2 separate regions of the Homo sapiens genome follow, and region 1 is linked to region 2. The links are contacts of gene promoters, found by promoter capture Hi-C in human tissues and cell types (Jung and others, 2019). All regions are on one chromosome and are shown on one strand. The core of a region is centred on a gene start or on the middle of the fragment in contact, and the rest is flanking DNA. Distances in the headings are between cores, read along the strand shown. Region 1 overlaps LOC124904638 (a long non-coding RNA gene). Region 2 holds the start of ZNF136 (zinc finger protein 136).

Region 1 (5,659 bases), core at 2-2,501, 580 kb after region 2:
ACTACAGATACACCCCACCATGCCTGGATAATTTTTTTAAACTTTTTGTAGAGACAGAGTCTTGCTATGTTGGCCAGGCTGGTCTTGAACTCCTAGGCTCAAGTGATCCTCCAACCGCAGCTTCCCAAAGTGTTGGGATTACAGGCATGAGTCACTGCACCTGGCCTCCATCCCTATTTAAAACAAAAAAAGAAAAAAGAAAGAAAGAAAACCAAACCAAACCAAAAAAAAACGTTGTCACGGATGACCTTGGCCGGAGGGTAAGCAGTTGGTGGTGCAGGAGGCATTGCTGACGATCATGAGGTTTTTGTATCTCTCATGGTTCATGTCCATCACAAACATGGGGGCATGGGCAGAGGGGGCAGAGATGGTGATCCCTTTGGCTGCCCATCCTAAGCGAGCCCCAGCCTTCCCCATGGTCGTGAAGATGCTGCTGGTGGACTCCATGACATAACCAGTGCCAGCATCGTCACCCAATTTGATTTTGCTGGGATCTGGCTTCTAGAAGATGGGGATGAGATTCCCATTTCCTATTGATGACAAGCTTCCCTTCTCTTTCTCAGTCTTTTCTTTTCTTTTTTTTTTTTTTTAAGAGAGAGAGGATCTCCCTATGTTGCCTAGGCTGGTCCTGAACTCCTGGTCTCAAGTGATCCTCCCACCTCAACCTCCTAAGTAGCTGAGATTACAAGCATGAGCCACCACACCCAGCCCACTTCTCAGCTTTGATGGTGCCGCGGAACTTGCCGTGGGTAGAATCATATTGGAACATGTAGACCATGTAGTTGAGGTCAATGAAGGGGTCATTGAGGTGACAACATCCATTCTGCCAGAGTTAAAAGCAGCTCTGGTGCCCTGGTGACCAGGCACCCAATATGGCCAAATCCATTTACTCCTGTCTTCACTTTCACCACGGTGTCTCGGGGACATGCCTTTTTCACTGCATGAAAAGATGTGGCTGTCTGTCAAATGGGAGGAGCAGAGAGGCTCTGCCTTTTTAATCTTTAAGAAAAAAAATTCAGGCTGGGCATGGTGGCTCACGCCTGTAATCCCAGCACCTTGGGAGGCCAAGGCAGGCGGATCACAAGGTCAGGAGATCCAGACCATCCTTACTAACATGGTGAAACCCCGTCTCTACTAAAAAATACAAAAAATTAGCTGGGCGTGGTGGCGGGCACCTGTAGTCCCAGCTACTTGGGAGGCTGAGGCAGGAGAATGGCGTGAACCCGGGAGGCGGAGCTTGCAGTGAGCCAAGATCGCGCCACTGCACTCCAGCCTGGGTGATGGAGCAAGACTCTGTCTCAAATAATAATAATAATAATAATTTAGATGGGGTCTCACTGTGTCACCCAGGCTTGTCTCAAACTCCTGGGCTCCAGTGATCCACCCACCTCAACCTCCCAAAGTGCTGGGATTACAGGTGTGAGCCACCACACCCGGCCTATTATTATTATTTGAGACAGTCTTGCTCTTGTCGCCCAGGCTGGAGTGCAGTGGCACGATCTTGGCTCACTGCAACCTCTGCTTCCCGGGTTCAAGCGATTCTCCTGCCTCAGCCTCCCGAGTAGCTGGGATTACAGGTGGCTGCCACCACGCCCAGCTAATTTTTTTTGTATTTTTAGTAGAGATGGGGTTTCACCTTGTTGGTCAGGCTGGTCTCAAACACCTGACCTCAGGTGATCCGCCCACCTCAGCCTCCCAAAGTGCTGGGATTACAGGCGTGAGCCACTGCTCCTGGCCCTGTCTTTTAATTTTTAAAGGGTAGGGGGCACCATGACCCATCTTTGCCCACCTAAACCACCTATTCAGCAGCCCATGCCCCGCAGCCCACAGCTGGGGGACATCATGCAAAATCTAAGTCAGATCTGTCCCTCTGATCAGAACCCTCTGTGGCTCCCACCTTACCCAGATAAAAGCCCCCTTCCCTGCAGCCCCCAAGAGCACACGCAACCTGCCCCACCCACACCCTTCTCTGTTCCTTGCCCTTGACCTTGCAGACTCAACCTTCCGGATTCACTTCCCCCTTGCTCACTCTGCTCCAGCCACAAAAGCCAATTTTTGGTTCCTCAAATCAAACTAACTCATGACAGCATTTTGAATTTTGAAGCCTTGGGGCCCCGAAAAAGTCCATCTTTTTTTTTTTTTTTTAAGATCGAGTCTCACTGTGTTGCCCAGGCTGGAGTGCGGTGGTGTGATCTCGACTCACTGCAACCTCTGCCTCCCTGGTTCAAGCAATTCTCCGGCCTCAGCCTCCCAAGTAGCTGGGATTACAGGTGCTCGCTGCCATGCCCAGCTAATTTTTTTGTATTTTAGTAGAGAAAGGGTTTCACCTTGTTGCCTAGGCTGATCTTGAACTCCTGAACTCAGGCAATCTGTCTGCCTCAGCCTCCCAAAGTGCTGGGATTACAGGCGTGAGCCACTGCGCCCGGCCCAAAAATCCATCTTTGTGGGTTCCTTTGTAAATGTGTAGTCAATTTAGAAATTTAGAAACACGGTTTCCCTTAAGCCTTTATTTAGTTACAATCACAACTAACATGTTACTTATACACCTGGCAAAGTGAAACATCAAAAAATTAATTCAGGGCCTGGCCTCAGGCCTGTAATCCCAGCACTTTGGGATGCCAAGGCAGACGGATCACTTGAGGTCAGGAGAATCGCTTGAACCTGGGAGACGGAGGTTGGGACGAGCTGAAGATCACACCACTGCGCTCCAGCTTGGGTGACAGAGTGAGTGAGACTCCATCTCAACAAAAAGAAAAAGAAATATCACTTTAAGAGGTCATTGGATGCATATTTGGGTCCGTTTATAAGTTTAGTGGATTGAAATTAACATTTTACATTTTATAAGTGTGATGCATTTTATTCTATACTCTTTTACTACTATAATAATAATTATTATTATTAATTTTTTTTTTGAGATGGAGTCTCGCTCTGTCACCCAAGCCGGATGGAGTGCAGTGGCGCGATCTTGGCTCACTGCAAGCTCCACCTCCCAGGTTCATGCCATTCTCCTGCCTCAGCCTCCCGAGTAGCTGGGACTACAGGCGCCCACCACCACGCCCAGCTAATTTTTTTGTATTTTTAGTAGAGACGGGGTTTCACCGTGTTAGCCATGTTGCTCTCGATCTCCTGACCTCGTGATCCGCCCGCCTCGGCCTCCCAAAGTGATGGGATTACAGGCGTGAGCCACTGCGCCCGGTCAATTATTATTATTTTTTAGAGACAGTGTATCAGCTCTGTCACCCAGACTGGAGTGCAGTGGTGCAATCATGGCTCACTGCAGCCTCGACCTCCTGAGCAATGCTCCCACCTCAGCCTCCTGAGTAGCTGGGCTACAGGTGCACACAACCACGCCCAGCTAATTTTATTTTTAAGAGATGAGGTCTCTACAAAAAGTGTTGGGATGACAGGTGTGAGCCACTGTGCCAGCTTATTCTTTAATCTTTTAATTTATTATTATTATTTTTTGAGACAGAGTCTTGCTCTACCACCCAGGCTAGAGTGCAATGGTGCGATCTCAGCTCACTGCAACCTCTGCCTCCCGGGTTCAAGCGATTCTCCTGCCTCAGCCTCCTGAGTAGCTGGGACTACAGGCACGTGCCACCACACCCAGGTAATTTTTTGTATTTATAGTAGAGATGGGGTTTCACCATGTTAGCCAGGATGGTCTCGATCTCCTGACCTCTTGATCCACCCGCCTCGGCCTCCCAAAGTGCTGGGATTACAGGCATGAGCCACTGCACCTGGCCTATTCTTTAATCTTTTTAAATGTCTCCACCAAGCAAACACCTTGAGAAGTCCTTATCAGTTATTAAAAATCTACAATGCAAACATACAAATAAAAGGAGAACAGTAAGTTCTCTTAAACATTCTGATACTACTTCTAAACTTAGCCAATAAACTGAGAATGAATGTTAATTTTTTAAATAAACAGGCCAGGGGCAGTGGTTCACACCTGTAATCCCAGCACTTTGAGGGGCTGAGTTGGGAGGATTGCTTGAACTCAGGAGTTCAAGAGCAGCCTGGACAAGGTGACAAATCCCTCTCTCTACAAAAAATACAAAAATTAGCTGGGTGTGGTGGTGTGTGCCTGTAGTCTCAATCCCCAGGAGGCCAAGGGGTGTGGGAGGATCCCCTGAGCCCAGAAGGTCGAGTCTGCAGTGAGCCGTGATCGCATCACTGGTCTCCAGCCTGGGTGACTCTGTTTTAGAAAAAGAAAAAAGAAAGAAAAAAAAAGCTTTCATTAACTGAAGACAGACTGAAAGCAAGAGAAACTGAAAGCAAGATAAATGAGTGGGTGGTTTTCTCAAGCACTGGTAAGTGCTGCAGAGAAAACTACAGCAACAGGAGAGTCAATGATGGGGGCAGGGTGGTGCATTTCAGATAATTTCAGATAAATTATCTTTTTCTTTTTTTTTTTTTTTTTTTGAGACAGAGTCTCACTCTGTCACCCAGGCTAGAGTACAGTGGCACGATCTTGGCTCACTGCAACCTCCGCCTCCCAGGTTCAAGCAATTCTCCTGCCTCGACCTCCTGAGTAGCTGGGACCACAGGTTTGTGCCACCACGCCCAGCTAATTTCTGTATTTTTAGTAGAGATGGGGTTTCACCATGTTGGCCAGGCTGGTCTCGAACTCCTGGCCTCAAGTGATCCACCCGGCTTGGCTTCCCAAAGTGCTGGGATTACAGGCGTGAGCCACCACGCCCAGACTCATTTCAGATAAATTAAAGGAACTTGAACACAATGGGTGACCTCAGTATCTGACTAAGGAAGACCCTTCCAGGCAGGGAGAACAGAAAGTGCCAAGACCCTGAGGCCAGAGTGTATCTGAGACAGTCAAGCAATGCGGAGGAGGTCAGAGGAGCAAGAAACAGGGAAAGCAGGATTGGCAGGAGGAAGGAAGGGAAGGGATTGGGTAGAGACAGCAGCGGAGAACAGGACCTGGATGTATTGGCAACAGGAGGAACTCACTCGTGGGGTTGTTGACATCTGAGATTGACACTGGTGTTGGGAAAATAGGAAAGGGTGGAGGTGGAGGGAGATTCTGAGTCACAGCCTGATCTAGCTCCACAGAAAATCAGCAGAAGAGAGTTCTCCTGGGTGAATGGAGAGAGAAGAGCTTATTCAGCACCCTGGAGGAGACCAGAGAGAGATAGCCAAGAACGCACAGGTTTTATTACATGCTCTGTGCAAGATCAGGTTTATTTTTTTCATTGTGCTCTCTCTCTCTCTCTCTCTCTCTCTCTGAGACAAGAGTCTAGCTGTGTTGCCCAGGCTGAAGGTCAGTGGTGCATTCGTAGCTTATTGCAGCCTCAAACTCCCAGGCTCAAGCGATCCTCCACCTCAGCTTCCTGAGTAGATGGAACCACAGGTGTGCACCACCATGCCTGGCTAATTTTTTTTTTTTTTTTTTTTTTTTTTGTAGCAATGTGGTCTCGCCACGATGCCCAGGCTGTTCCTGAACTCCCGGGCTCAAGCGATCCTCCCACATTGGCTGGGTTTACAGGCCTGAGCCACCATGCTTGGCCAGCTTTTTCAATTTAAAAAATATAGAAAGTGTTAATACAAATTAAAAAGTTATAAAATAGTGCCAATAGTATCCCATTTTTCCGAAGACAAACATAGGCAGAGAAAAATTAATGGATACTGTCTCTCTGGGCAG
Region 2 (5,989 bases), core at 689-3,188:
GAAAAAGGGGGACAGGATGTGGGCTGATACAAAGTTGTTTGTCAGGAATTCTCACTGATTTACAGAAGTAACATTGATAAGCGCGTGGCTATGCACTGTTAAGCTATAGGGTGTGGGTTCCAGGGTCCCGTGTTGCATTAGTAAGTTGATTATACCTACTTGTGGCAATAGCAGTTTCAAAAGATGAATTCATAGCTTCAGGGAGTTAGAAGGTGATTGCTGTATCACTTGAATGTCTCTATGTGCCCGTTCATTTAAAAGGACCCACATTTATCAGACGAAAATTATTTTTTTGAGGCCGGGTACAGTTACGCCTGTAATCCCAGCACTCTGGGAGGCCAAGGCAGGCGGATCGCGAGGTCAGGAGATCAAGACCATCCTGGCTAACAAGGTGAAACTCCGTCTCTACTAAAAACACAAAAAATTAGCCGGGCGTGGTGGCATGCGCCTGTAGTCCCAGGTACTGGGGAGGCTGAGGCAGGAGAATCGCTTGAATCCGGGAGGCAGAGGTTGCAGTGAGCCGACATCACGCCACTGCACTCCAGCTTGGGCGACAGAGAGACTCCGTCTCAAAAAAAAAAAAAAAAAAAAAAAGTTATCTGGGAGTGGTGGCGCAAAACTGTGGTCCCAACTACAGGGGAGGCTGAGGCAGGAGAATCGCTTGAACCCAGAAGATGGAGGTTGCAGTGAGCCGAGATCACGTCACTGCACTCCAGCCTAGGCGACAGAGCGAGACTCTTTCAAAACACACAAAAAATTTTCTTTTCTCAATCCTCAATACCAGCATCTGATTGGCTGACCACCAGTGTGTCTCCAAAGGATGGAAACTGGGGTTGGGGGAGGAAAAGCTGAGTGCCCCCAGAGGTTGGCTATTTAGAAGCAGGGTATGCTAGATTTATCCTAGTCCCAGGGCATTCTCCCAGCCTTCTATTTCAACTGTCCTCTAGGAAGACTCACCCAAGACCCAATATTCACTAGATCCTCCAAGAGACTTGGCAGCTGTGGGCAGCTTGAGTCAGCCCCAGACAGTTTTGAAACCCAGAACCAGGAAAAAATAAATAGGAGGGGGCGCTGAAGGCATATCACCCTGTAAAGATTCCAAAGGGGAACCTCAACTCAAAGACATTCTGATGAGGTATCTGTGCATAGAGGAGACAAAAGGACAAGCACAAAGGTTTCTTACAGCGGAGTGTCAAGGCTATGAACAGAAAACAAACCTTGATGAAAGAGTAATCCATTGCTTTGTTGAAAAATAAACAATGAAAGCACAATATCTGAAATGTAGAATATAGGAGAAACGGTTGCTAATGTCGTGAATGGAAGGGGAGAGGTTGGCGTTTGGAAAAGCGAAAAGAGAACAGGAAATTTGGGGATTTACTGCAAGCCCTGGAAACAGCAGGCTGGGGGACAGAGTGAGGATTTGGGACCCTGCATCCCATACACTTAGAAAACTCAGGGAAAAACGGGTGTCCTCTGTGGAGAGAAAAGGAACTGGGAACCTCATACACCACAGCTCCTTCCACGCACAAGTCAGGATTTCCCCCACCCCATGACCCTCGCGTGGGCCCCGCACAATCTGAAGAGACTTGGGTCTTCGGGGCCGGGGCCGCAATCGCGGCACAGGGCGGGACGAGGACGCCCGGGGTCCCGGCTGCCGGCCCAGCCCCACCCTGAGGCCGAGGGTACCAAGGGCTGAGCTGCGCCAGAGGGACTCGGTACGCAGACCCAGAGTCGCCCACGGGAAGGCCCGGGCCGCGCCACAGCCAGTTCCGGTCGTCCAACCAGCCCCTCCTCCCTGTCTCGGGACGCAGGGCCCGACACACTCACCATTTCCTGACTCCCGGGTGTCCCAGCTTCCTCCCTCCGGATCCCAAGGCAGGTACAGGAAACCGCGCCACAGAGACTCCAGGCGAGCCACTCTGGGCCTCTGGGACTAGCGAAGCGAAACCAAGTACGGCAGACGCGAGAAATGAAAATCCCGCGAGAAGGTTGAACGTCTGCAGCTGCGTCCCCGACGGCGCGCCTGATTGGACCGATCGCAGAGCTCCTCCCCGGTGCCCCTGATTGGGTACAGCTTCGGGCTCTGCCCCCTGCATCTTGACAGATGTGAATGACAGGAGATGTGAAGCATAGATGAGTGAAGCGGGAATGAGGGGTCTTGGCCCCAGCCCTCAAACGCAGGGTGGACTTCTTCCCCTCGTCCCCTTCACTGTACTTGGTCTGCGGGGGATGGGGAGATGGGAGATACTTGCATTTTAGCAGAACTTAATCCGGGTTTACCAAAGGAGATACTTCCTGTACTCAGTGGGTCATTTCTTCATCTACCTCTTGCATGAGGAGTCACAGGTGTGCGCAGGGAGTTCCAGGCAGGACTGGAACAGAAGAAAGGGCGTGATATTCCCAGGGATCGGAAATTTGGGATGAGGATATGGGAAGCGTGCCCAAGGCTTTCTCATACCATACCTCTTTATCTCTCTCTATTTTTTACTTTATTTACTTATTTATTACTTTATTTACTTATTTATTACTTTATTTATTTATTTGAGACAGGGTCTAGCTCTGCCACCCAGGTTAGAGTGCAATGGCATGATCATAGCTCACTGCAGCCTCCATCTCCTGGGTTCAAGCGAACCTTCCGCTTCAGTCCCCTGAGTAGTAGAGACTACAGGTACATGCCACCAAGCCCGGCAAATTCTTTAATTTTTTGTAGAGACGGGATTTCGTTTGTTGTCCAGGCTGGTCTTGAACTCCTAGCCTCAAGTGAACCTCCCACTTTCGCCTCCCAAATCAATCTACTCATTTTCACCCAAGAAAATAAAAAACTGCCAACAAGTGAATAAAATTATTAAATACATGGAAAAACAAGTTCTATTTCCGTAATCTGTAAAGAAATCAAAAGGGAAGTAAAGCGAAAATTTGAACTAGCTCAGATAAGCAGGGCACTTCAGAACATTTAAAAAGGAAAAGATGAATTCAGAAGGTAGAACATATTCCCAAGCTTAAGAGTCAGTGACTGCTGAAGTGGAGCCACAGAGTACATTAGACCCTGATGATGAGGCAGGAAACCTAAGGATTTAACTCTGGGAGCTCAACATGCCCTCCTGTCACAGCATCACAATGTGGGAACGCTCCCTCCTTCAATACCTTAATAATTTACACCAGCAGAAAACTCTCACCTGTGGTCAATTTAGGCCCCTTGAAATTCCAACCTCTCTAGCTCATAAACCATTTCTCTGGAACGCTACCTAAATGAGTCTCTAAATATGATCTTTACATATTTTCTTCATATATACAAATTACAGCCTGACTGCAGCAACTCTATACATAGAAAAATCAAGGCCGGGCACAGTGGTTCATGCCTGTAATCCCCAACACTTTGAGAGGCCGAGGCGGGCGGATCACTTGAGGTCAGGAGTTCAAAACCAGCCTGGCCAAGATGGCGAAACCCCGTCTCTACTAAAATTACAAAAATTAGCCGGGCGCCTATAATCCCAGCTTCTGGGGAGGCTGAGGCACAAGAATCGCTTGAACCCGGGAGGTAGAGGTTCCAGTGAGCCGAGATCGCGCCACTGCACTCCAGCCTGGGTGACAGAGCAAGACTCCGTCTCAAAAAACAAAAAGTTTTCCGGAAAACTACCTTGGGAAACTAGAGGTACAACCTCAGAAAGGAGAGAAACCCGCACGTGCATTTGCCTGTGAAGTTCCTGCTTTCCAGGGCTCTGCAGCTTCTCAGAATCCACACTCCTGGAGCTGGAGCTGGAGCTGTTCGGAGCAGCTGGAGACTACCTACAGGGGAAGGCAGGCTGCCCAGGAAGCAATCGGGGGAGCTCCCTTTCCCTCCCTTTGCAGGCTCCAGATTAGTCTCAGTGTGGATCACCGGCCTCAGGCTATGCTGCCCCCTGCAAGTTTTCCACCTGCTTTTCACCCACATTGTTCAGTTCCACGAGGCAAACACCCTCAATCCCAGTGTTCGAAAGAGAATCCAGCAGAGTCCCTGCTTTCCTCCTGTGTTTACCGTAAAGTAGAAGAGAAAAATTTCAAGACAGTTTTAAGTGGATTTTAAAACTGGCAAATAATTATTCCTTTGATAAAATGAAGAAGCCAGCAAACTATTATTTCGACATTAACAAACTGTTATATAAAACCACTAATGAAGGTCGGGCGCGGTGGCTCACGCCTGTAATCTCAGCACTTTGGGAGGGCGAGGCGGGCGGATCACCTAAGGTTAGGAGTTCGAGACCAGCCTGACCAACATGGAGAAACCTCGTCTCTAAAAGTACAAAATTAGCCAGGCGTGGTGGCGCGTGCCTGTAATCCCAGCTACTCAGGAGGCTGAGGCAGGAGAATCGCTTGAACCTGGGAGGCGGAAGTTGCCGTGAGCTGAGATCACACCATTGCACTCCAGCCTGGGCAACAAGAGCAACACGGTGAAACTCTGTCTCTACTAAAATACAAAAAATTAGCTGGGCGTGGCAGTGTGCGCCTGTAGTCCCAGCTACTCGGGAGGCTGAGACAGGAGAATTGCTTGAACCCCAGAGGCAGAGGTTGCAGTGAGTTGAGATCGCGCCACTGCACTCCAGCCTGGGCGACAGAGCGAGACTCCGTCTCCAAAAAAAAAAAAAAAAACTAATGAAATATGGACTCTCTTCTGCTTCAGCAGCTCCCTGACCTTCACAGTTGATGGTTGTCACCAGGTGCTCTGTGTCAGGAGATGTACATGTGCAGTTTAGCCATTGAAAATTCTCTCTTAAATCGGGCGCGGTGGCTGCGCTAGGGGGACTCCAGTCCACCGGTCCCGAAGTCGCCCCGGACAGGCCTGGGTCCCGTCACAGCAGGTTCCTGTCCAGCACCTTGCTCCACAGTCTCGGGACATCCCCCCAGCACTCACCATTTCCTGGCTTCTGAGGTGTCTATGGTTCTCCTTATGTCTTTCGTGTTCATTGCAAGTCACAGCTGGAAAGAAGCTGCAGCGAAGCCACCTCTGGTGCTTCTCAGAGCAGCATAGACCTGACACCCACTGTGGGCGGGTGAAAGGAACGCCTCGCAGTTTTATGGAGCTTCGCGGCCTCCTCCCAGAGCCGCGCCTGATTGGACAATTTGCACAGCCACACCCCCCCGCCCCTCCTGATTGGACAGTGCCACGGGCCCCGCCTTCTGGGAGGCGGAGTGAGAGGAGAATTTAACACCTGGCTGAGTGGAGCTTGAATGAAAGGTTCTAGGCCCGACATGTGGCTCACACCTATACAATCCCAGGACTCGGGGAGGGCTGGAAAGGAGAACTGCTTGAGGCCAGGAGTTCAAGACCAGCTTGAGCAACGTAGTGAGACCTCATCTCTAAAAAAAAAAGAAAAAAAAAAAAAATTAGCCCAGCCTGGTGGCCCTGCAACTATAGTCCCAGCTACTTAGCAGGCTGAGTAAAGAGGATTGCTTGAACCTTGAAGGTAGAGGCTGCAGTTAGCTATGATCAGCGCACTGCACTCCAGCCTAGGTGACAGAGTAACACCCTGTCTCGAAAAAAAAAAAAAAGAAAAGAAAAGAAAAGAAAAATATAGATTCTAGCCACAGCCGGATTTCCTCCTTGCACTGCAGCCTGGCCCCCACCCTGGGGATACTGGTATTTCAGAATATGTTTCAGGCTTTCCAGAGCTGACACTGTTGTCTTCCTGTACTCAGTGGGCCCTTCTTTCAGGGGAGGTGGGGGTGGGGGGAGGGGGTTTGAGGTGGGGAGGTTGTCTGCCTTGAGGTCTAGTCAGGCCAACACTGGAAGAGGAGAGAGGCCTGATGTCGTCAGAGATTATAAATTTGGGATGAGGGATAGCCAAAGATTTTTCATACTTTATCTCTCAGTCTACTCATTTTCACTCAAGAAAACAACAAGCCAACAACAGAATAAAACTAAGTGCATGGAAAAGCTGGAATTATATGGCAGCTATATATATACACATATATATACATATATGTGTATATATATACTTATATATGTGTTTGT

The links. The method cuts DNA at HindIII sites, captures the fragments that hold promoters and counts their contacts. A contact is called where the count stands out against the background at its distance.
Region 1: a fragment that was not itself captured here is called in contact with the fragment with the promoter of ZNF136 in region 2 in 1 of the 25 tissues and cell types used here (small bowel).

The regions. Positions count from the first base shown.
Region 1 is chr19:11,580,498-11,586,156 of GRCh38, reverse strand. It overlaps LOC124904638 (a long non-coding RNA gene), which reads right to left. Exons shown (of 2, transcript XR_007067140.1): 2 at 2,493-2,740. It also overlaps the pseudogene GAPDHP76. Among named protein-coding and RNA genes, the nearest start is that of ACP5, 5.7 kb to the right of the region's middle. RefSeq lists enhancers at 2,063-2,122, 2,133-2,272, 4,174-4,373 and a silencer at 3,873-4,038. The HindIII fragment of the contact is 7,524 bases long and covers 1-5,013 here.
Region 2 is chr19:12,159,045-12,165,033 of GRCh38, reverse strand. It overlaps ZNF136 (zinc finger protein 136), which reads right to left and starts at 1,938. Exons shown (of 4, transcript NM_003437.5): 1 at 1,828-1,938. The coding sequence starts at 1,830. RefSeq lists enhancers at 1,838-1,997, 2,008-2,097. The HindIII fragment of the contact is 18,447 bases long and covers 1-4,752 here.